Linked DNA regions of Homo sapiens: regions 1 and 2 are each linked to region 3. Evidence: promoter capture Hi-C in 16 types of primary human blood cells and fetal thymus (Javierre and others, 2016). All regions are on one chromosome and are shown on one strand. The core of a region is centred on a gene start or on the middle of the fragment in contact, and the rest is flanking DNA. Distances in the headings are between cores, read along the strand shown.

What was found. The method cuts DNA at HindIII sites, captures the fragments that hold promoters and counts their contacts. A CHiCAGO score of 5 or more calls a contact.
Region 1: a contact is called between a fragment that was not itself captured here and the fragment with the promoter of CD99L2 in region 3, in 1 of 17 cell types (M2 macrophages). The highest score is 5.3, in M2 macrophages.
Region 2: a fragment that was not itself captured here is called in contact with the fragment with the promoter of CD99L2 in region 3 in 1 of 17 cell types (monocytes); the score reaches 5.5 in monocytes.

What each region holds. Positions count from the first base shown.
Region 1 is chrX:151,091,017-151,093,716 of GRCh38, reverse strand. No RefSeq gene overlaps it. Among named protein-coding and RNA genes, the nearest start is that of MIR4330, 76 kb to the left of the region's middle. The HindIII fragment of the contact is 8,072 bases long and covers 1-2,700 here.
Region 2 is chrX:150,744,605-150,747,304 of GRCh38, reverse strand. All of the region lies in intron 13 of MTMR1 (myotubularin related protein 1), which reads right to left. Among named protein-coding and RNA genes, the nearest start is that of MTMR1, 53 kb to the right of the region's middle. The HindIII fragment of the contact is 4,726 bases long and covers 1-2,700 here.
Region 3 is chrX:150,897,357-150,900,168 of GRCh38, reverse strand. CD99L2 (CD99 molecule like 2) reads left to right here and starts at 1,501. Exons shown (of 11, transcript NM_031462.4): 1 at 1,501-1,647. The coding sequence starts at 1,581. RefSeq lists a silencer at 1,217-1,826. The HindIII fragment of the contact is 7,642 bases long and covers 1-2,561 here.

The DNA of each region.
Region 1 (2,700 bases), core at 64-2,563, 190 kb before region 3:
GATCTCTTGAGTCCAGGAGTTTGAGGCTGCAGTGAGCTATGATTGGACCTCTGCACTTTAGCTTGGGTGACAGACCAAGACCCCATCTCTAACTAACTACAAAACAAAACAAAATACCGCAAACAAGAGAGTGAAAATCAGTATGTTGTAGAGATATTGGTGCCCCTGTGTTCACTGCAGCATTATTCACAATAGCCAAGATATGGAAACAACCTAAATGTCTATGGATGGATGAATGGATAAAGGAAGTCTAGTACATACGTACAGTGGAATATTATTCAGCCTTTAAAAAAAGAAGGAAATCCTGACATTTGCAACAACATGGATGAACCTGGAGGGCATTTTGTTAAGTAAAATAAGTCAGGCAGATAAAGACAAGGGGGAAGAGAGAAATAGGGAAGTGATGGTCAAATGGTACAATGTTTTAGTTATGCAAGATAAATAAGTTCTGAAGGTCTACTATACTATGCTGTAAGAGACTAGATCTTATGAAGTGTTGTTAACACACACCCAAAAACAATAATAAAGAGGGCAGGAGGAAACAGTGGGAGGTGATGGAAATATTTATGGCCTTGATAATGGTGATGGTTTCACAGGCGTATACTTATCCCCAAACTCCTTGAGATGTACACATTAAATATGCACAACTTTTAATGCAATATACCTCAATAAAGTGGTTAAAAAAAAGAAAATGTTCCAAAATTGATAGTGGTGATGGTTGCACAACTGTGAATGTACTTTAGAAACCACTGGATTGTACCCTTTGGAAGAGTGAATTTTGCGGTGTGTGAATTATTTCTCAATAAAACTGTTATTTTTTAAAATGCAGTCAGAGCTACAGCGAGATGATATTTCAGATTCCTGAACCCATTGGAATGATTTTTTTTTCAGATTTTCTTCCCTGGAATATTGTCATCATAGCAGTAACCTCCCTGAGCCCTGCTCATCCTCCTAGCCTTCACTACCCAGGCCTGTGAGTCAGGCTCCTTTCTCTGATGCTTTTGCCACCACTGTTTGCTAATTTTCCAAGAACCCTGCTTTCACCTGCTAAAAGGATCCCACTCTGCCCTGCCCTTCATGATATTAGGGTAATTCCTGCTATCTGCTTGTCTGCTCCCCTCTTGGATCACCCTAACCAATGGCAAAGGAAAGCGCATAGTTACTGGTTGTATGAATATTTCCAGATATTTACTCTATTGGTTTGGGGGTTTCTCACACTTCAATTTATTATCCTCTTATCAGCAGCTCCAGCTACTGGGCCTTCATTATATATTAATTGCCAGTGCCAATTGTCATTATTTTTTATATTAAAAATCCATCTATAAACACACTTCAGCAGCTCCACCACCTCACCATCATTGCTCATTTAATCTCCCTCCTCCTCTATTAGAGCAGCAGGGGGCTAACCAGAGCAGGAGACACTGGGGCTAATCAGATCACTAGTTTGTCTGAACATTAAGCTCAACAGGAACTCAGTAGGATGTACTAGGTCAGGTAAGGGCAGATTCAATCTTCCACCAGCTCTGAGGACCAACAGCGGAGGGACCTGGAATCAGAGACAATTAAAGGATGAACCCCAGCTTGAAGGGGCTGATGGTAAAGACTGGGTGACTGTTAGGTGGGGTGGCTATAACTGAGGGCTCTGTGAAGGCATGATTTGATGAGAAGAATTTCCTGGCTTATGCAACACTACTCATCATCTGACCTGTTCACTCACCATTTCTCAGAACTCCTAATGCAGGGAGCAGTGGTAGAAAATGTGTTGGCCAGCAAGTTAGGAGACCAGGGACTTGTCTGAACTCTATTCCTAAGTGTGATTCTTGGAAAACTCCATAACCTCTCAGGGTATCACATTCTTCAACTGGGGGCAATAATCCCTACCTTGCTGACACCTCAGAGTTTTGATAAGGGCCAAATGAAAAAAAAAAAAAAACTTCAGTGAGTATGTATTACTTGTTAAGCACTACTTTAAGGGAGTATTGTTCTTTGCACTTTGCATGCATTAACTCCTTTAATTTCCTCAGTAGTCCTATAAGGTAGGTACTATCATGGTCTCATTGCACTGATGGGGACATTGAGGCACAGAGGAGGCAAACAATTCTCTCAAGCTCACTTGTGTATGTGGCTGTTTCACATACACATGAACAGCACAGTGGTGTTCAGCCACTGCACTGTTCAACCACCCCTAGTCTATAAAATCAAACTCTAGTCTGGCTTTCTTAACTGGAGTCTTTCTCTACCTTCTCATTCTGAGCCCTGGCTTTCACCCGCGTATCTTGGGAGCCCCTCACCTAAGAGTAGGAGAAGGGTAAGCATTCTCCTCATTCTATAGTGCTTTGCTCAGGCCACTGTTCTGCCACCTGCATGTAAAACCCCCTAATTTTTAGCCACTCAGTCTATCTAGTTGGTTCCACCACTCTATTTCCCTCCTGGTTGCCATCATCTAATGACCTCCTAGTCATGGCGCCTCAGTCACTGGAGATTTAGTTTACTGTCTTCCTCCTACTCCAAAGCTGGACTATCCTTTTGGGTGACTTTGGTGTCCAAGAGGAACCTAGCCATAACTGTACCAGTCATAGTTCAGTCAGGAAAGCAGAGCCACTGTGGGGATTCTGGGAAATCCGACTTTGCAAAAGGGTGGGAAGAGCTGGGAAGTGAAGGTCCAGAAGAGAGCATTGAAAGATCAGATCAAGAGTTACT
Region 2 (2,700 bases), core at 34-2,533, 150 kb after region 3:
TTTTTAATTTTTTTTTTGAAGAGATGGGGTGTCTCACTATGTTGCCCAGGCTGGTCTTGAATTCCTGGCCTCAAGCGATCCTTCTACCTCAGCCTCCTGAGTCGCTGAGATTATAGGTGTGAGCCACCACACCTGGCCCCAATTCTGCACCTCTTGAGGAACAAAAATATCAATGACTATTAAACCTACCCAGAGGAGTAAGGATTGTATTAAACTATGGATATTATTGAGTGTCTTTGGGACTCTAAAGAGTCCCTCAATTATTTTTCCCTTAGTTTCTTTGTTCACATACAGACTAGTTCATTTTATTCTGATATTTCTGACAATTTTACACTGCATAGCTTACTTAACAGTAGGCAACCTAAAAATAATCTTTCCTATGACTGCATCTTATACCTGCTATATATCTCATTCATTTCTTAATGAACTGATAAAGACTAGTCATGGATGTCTGTGCTAATGCATTAACAATGTAATTTTAAAAGAAATTAATTATACACACATTTCACAGACAGAATCTTAGAGCTGTGAGAAGCATCTGAAATCTTCTAATTCAAACCCCTTTTCTTAAAATCCAATAAAAGCACAAAAATGACATGGCTTAGACATGAAAACAGGCACTAAGCAGTATAAAGAATGGAGGTCAGTTTGAAGATGTTTAAAAATCCACATTTGGGAGGAATAAGCTATTTCACATCCACCGAAATGGTGCTCATCCCTTTAGAAGCACTGCAATTATTTTTTGTGTTCAACCTTTTTATGCAATTTTTCTAAAATGTGTTTCATACTTTCTTGTCCTAACCTGAACATGACAATCATTTAACTTTCTTATTGGCTCAGCATCAACACAAATAGCAACAGTGCCTGGCTCTATAAAACAGTAAGGCTTCAGGCCAGTCTTCATGCTTCTGGAGTGTGTTTGCTGCTACCTTTCACATGCACCATCAGCACACCTACCTCTGGGACCAGCCCCTCTTACCCAGGCCAGCTCTCTAACAGGCTATCTTTAATCACCTGTGACCTGGCCATCAGATCATGTGAGACCCCAATCAGTTTGTTGAAGCTGGGTGTAAAAGTCAGTGTTAATTTCTAAGTGAGGGCCTGAGGACTCCATGAAATCTACTTTGGCTATTCAGACTCCCTCCCCTTTGTTCCTTATTTCTAGAGGTATGTCTCTGTGCTCCCTTGCCACTGAAAATGTGATCTGTGACCCGATGGCATCACCTGAGAGCTTATCAGAAATGTGGCATCTCAGGCTCTGCCTCAGCCCCACTGAATCAGAATCTGCATTTCAATAAGAGTCCCAGGGGACTTGTGTGCTCATTAAGGTTTGAGCAATGTTAGTCTACAGCAATGGTCTCCAAGTTGAGCATCCATCAGCCCCCAGAAGGGCTTGTGGAACCAGAGGGCTGGGCCCCACACCCAGAGCACTGGAAGGTCATCAGTGAGGCTGAAGTTTGGTGTCTCTAACAAGTTCTCAGGACCACATTTGGAGCACTAAGCTAGATCACTGGTTGTCAAACTCATTTGCACATCTGAATCACCTGGGGAACTTTTACACACACCTAAGCCTGTCTCCAGGCTCACAGGAAGAAGGTTCCCAGGGGCTGGCTGTGTGCACTCAAGGTGGAGAGCCATCTTCTGAGTTCTCCAGGTCCTCCTCAGGGCAGAGCTGCTGGGGAGCCGGACAGCACAGGCAGCATCATGACTATCAACCTTCCTTCTGCCCCAACACACACTGCCATCAGTAACAGTAGCTCTCAGTGGGGAAACAGGCCTAGTATTTCACAGACTTTCTGCAGTAGGGAGGCAGATGTCCTCTGAAAAGGCCCTGGGCTGATGGTGATAAGGCTGCGGGAGGATCAATCAAGAGCAGCAGGGCTATTGGTAGCATCCCCGCAGATCACCGGCAGTGTCCTGGCTGCTTCCCTTCCCCGTGACTGAAGCAGCCAAGGCCAGAGCTCCTGGTGAATGACTAGCAAGAGAAGGCTCAGACCCTGGATCTCAGCCCCCTAACTTGTTCTGTACCCCATAGCCCCACCCTCAGCCAGGTTGCGCAGCAGGCACTGGGGAAACTACTCTCTTTTGCCTCTCTCTCTGGTTCCAGGTCCATTGCCCTGGCACTGTCTCTTATCACAAGGATAGGAGACCAAACTCAGGTTTAGATGTTGGAGATGAGGGGGAAAACAACGACAACAAAACAGTGCAGGAACTATGGCCTTATGGCCTACTTTGAACTGAAGCCAAAGGGCCTGACCAGCTCAAGGGAAGGGGATCCCTAGATGGCTCCCTTCTTTACCAGGGCCCTGTGCATTGGGGTTTGGGAACGATGCACCAGCTAATAGCAAAATGCTATGCAGCTTCCTCTATGCCATTGGTTCTTGGACACTCATTTCCCTCAGTGACCTTGGGTGGGAGAGGCTCTGGACTGGGGCAGAGTGTGGAGATTCCTGGATTGCCTGGTCTAATCCCATGTACTAGCAGTTCATTCCCATCCTCATTTCTAACATCTGGCCAAATCTTAGATGAACTGCTCAGCAGGAGACTGTACTTCCTTAACCTTTTGAAGGGGAGCAAAAGCAGCAGAATCTATAGAGGAGTAGGGCCTTGGTTTGGACCTAGTGGACAAGATGATTGATAAAAACCATTTGCAAAGACAAGTAACTTTTGGTGTGAAATTGGTTGTTTCTAATGTTCTGC
Region 3 (2,812 bases), core at 252-2,751:
CTCCCCAACCTCAAGGAACCTCCATTTTGCTGCTTTTCCCTCGTTAATAGGTGATGATACATAAGGCATTGTGAGGAATAAAAATTAAGGGTAAAATGCCTGGAATATGCCATGTGTATAGTGTGTGTTCAATAACTACCAGCTATTTCTGTTAATTCTACAGCTAGAATGGAATAATGTTCCATTCATAGAGTAATTAATGCCCTGAGCCTGGGAAGATCCACTCCTCATATGCTGTTTTGTTTCTGCAGCCCTAAGATTCAGGGCAATGGATGTAAGCCACACGGGAGATTTCGGCTCCATCTCAGGGAGACCCCACACCCCACTGTTCCTTAGGGGTTGGTGGGAGCCACTGAGGGGGGTGCCTATGGCAGCGAGGGCTGGGTTGGGGGCACAGGAAAGCTGCCGAATGGATATTGAGGGGAGGTGGTAGTAGCCGCCCTCTAAGGAGGATGTGGCCCTGGGCAGCCGGTGCCGCATAATGGCAGGGACAGGCTCACGCTACCACTCCGGAGAGCAGTAGCGCTTCCTCTTTGTCTTCGAGAGCCGGTTGCAGCTGGGGCTCTTCTAGGGAGCGTTCCCATCAACTGCTGCAGCGGGCATTTTGCTGGTCGGCACAGTATCGTATCGGAATCTGATTTCTTCGGGTCTGGGAGACGGACTCCGTTTGCGGGGGTTCATGGGAAAGGACTGCAGCGCGTTTGTCGGTCATTAAGCACGTTTTTGAGATCGACTCTGCAGATATGAACTTGCACTTTCAGCGCATTCATCAAAGCCTCGGGAGAGCTGACCCAGTCCCTACCCCCAGTCTCCCGAGCCCGCGGCGCTTCGGCTCCGGGACGCCCCCATCCTCCCCTGTCGCCCACCCGGGCGCCCCCGGCCTCGTTTTCTCGAGACGTGTCACTGCTTGTTGACCGCAGCCAGTCACGAAAACGGTCCTTTTCTTCAGTCTCCGGCCAGGGTTTCACTCCTGCAGGGAACAGCGGGTGGGGACAGAGTGCGGGGCTCCGTGCTGGACGGTGTCTGGAGGGGCCCCAAGGGAACAACCCTTCACCGGGAGAACACCAAGGCCAGAAGGGGAAGAGCCCTTCTCAAGGTCACCCGGGAGGAAATCGGCGCCCACCGGCGCTGCCGCCTCCCGCTCCCCGGCACTGGTGACTCACTGCTCCAGGTCCGCGGGGCCACCTCCGAGACTTCGGTCTCGAGGACCGAGGTGGGACAGGGTCTGCGGACCGCGCGCTGCCGCTGGACCCAGCCCAACCCAACCCAGGCCTCCCCACCCACCGGGTGCCCGCAGGCCACGCCCCTCGCCCGGAGCCCCGCCTCCAGAACGCGGCCCCGCCCCCGATACTGCAGCCTCGCCCCGCCCCCCGGCCTAACCCCAGCCCAGGCGCCCTCAGGCGCCGGCTCTCTAGCGCGCCCGACCTCCATCTTCCCGGGGCCGCGCCGCGCGCGCGCGCGGGCTTTGGGCGGGACCCTGCAGAGGCGGCGGGGCTCCTCCTCCCGCTCCTCCTCGGCCTCCCCTTCGGGCGCTCTCGCGCTAACTGTGCTCCTCCGGGGCCCTCCGCCTGCTCCCAGCCATGGTGGCCTGGCGCTCGGCGTTCCTTGTCTGCCTCGCTTTCTCCTTGGCCACCCTGGTCCAGCGAGGTAAGGCGGGCGGGGGGCGCGCGGGGACCGCGCGGGGACCCCGCCTTGTGGGCCCAGGGGTCGCTCTGCGCATGAGCGGCACGGTCCCCGCCTCTCGGGCCTGCGGTGGCTGCCACCGGCCGGCCCGGCTGTGCGAGGCGGAGCGGCGGGGGTCCGAGCCCCGGGCCCGTGGGGGTTGACTCCGCCGCGGTCGGAGTAGCCGGAGAGGAGGGGTGGGTCCCCTCCTGACGCTGGGCTGGAAACAGCGGGATGGGCCCCCTAAAATCCTGAACGAGCAGGTGTACCACTGGTGACAACAGCTGTCCCCAAGAGTTTACCTTTGAGAAAACCTTGAAGAGAGCAGTCATTTTCGAAATTTGCTGCGAGGCCACCGACAGCAGAAGCACCTGGGGAACTTCCTAGGTGGATTCCTAGCCCCTTTCATCGGGATCACAGCGGGCATGGGCTGTGGGGGGGGGGGGGGGGGGTCAGCGAGGCGTAGGTCTAACCAGCTCTCTAGGTGCTTCTGCCGTCCGCTTCAGTTTTTGAGACTTTGGTCATGTTTTGCCAAGGAGCAGGAGAGAGAAATCCCGCTGAATCAAGGAAGCACGTTTCTTAGACCCTCTGCTACTCAAAATGTGGTCCAGGGCCCAGCCGCATAGGCATCACCTGGGAGCTTGTAAGAACTGCAGCATCTCACGCCCCGCCCCCGACCTACTGAGTCTGATTCTGCATTTCAACTAGATCCGCGGGTGATTCTCTGGCACATTCAAGTTTGAGAAGCATCTTAGTAGAATAAATGCAGTCTGTGGTTAAAAATAGGGTCTTAAACATGTACCAACAGAATCTTCTTACACTTATTTATATCCTATGTCCCCATCAGAAAAAGGGATTAAGGGAAACACTGTAATTGAACGTGAATTATGCTCCAAGCTTCCTGACAATAGAAGCGAACCCAGCTGGTGGAAAATATGTGAGCTCAGGAAACACACACACACACACACACACACACACACTTTGTCCTAGTACTGAGTTCTAGTAAGATTTATGTCACATAAAGGAACACTGGAAAACAGTGGATGGTACTAGCCAAGCCACTTTTGCAAAAGATGCAGAAATGTTTTTCATGTGGGCAACCCACCTGGAGTTGATTCACGAAGAGCCATTTAACATTCTGCAGAGGTGC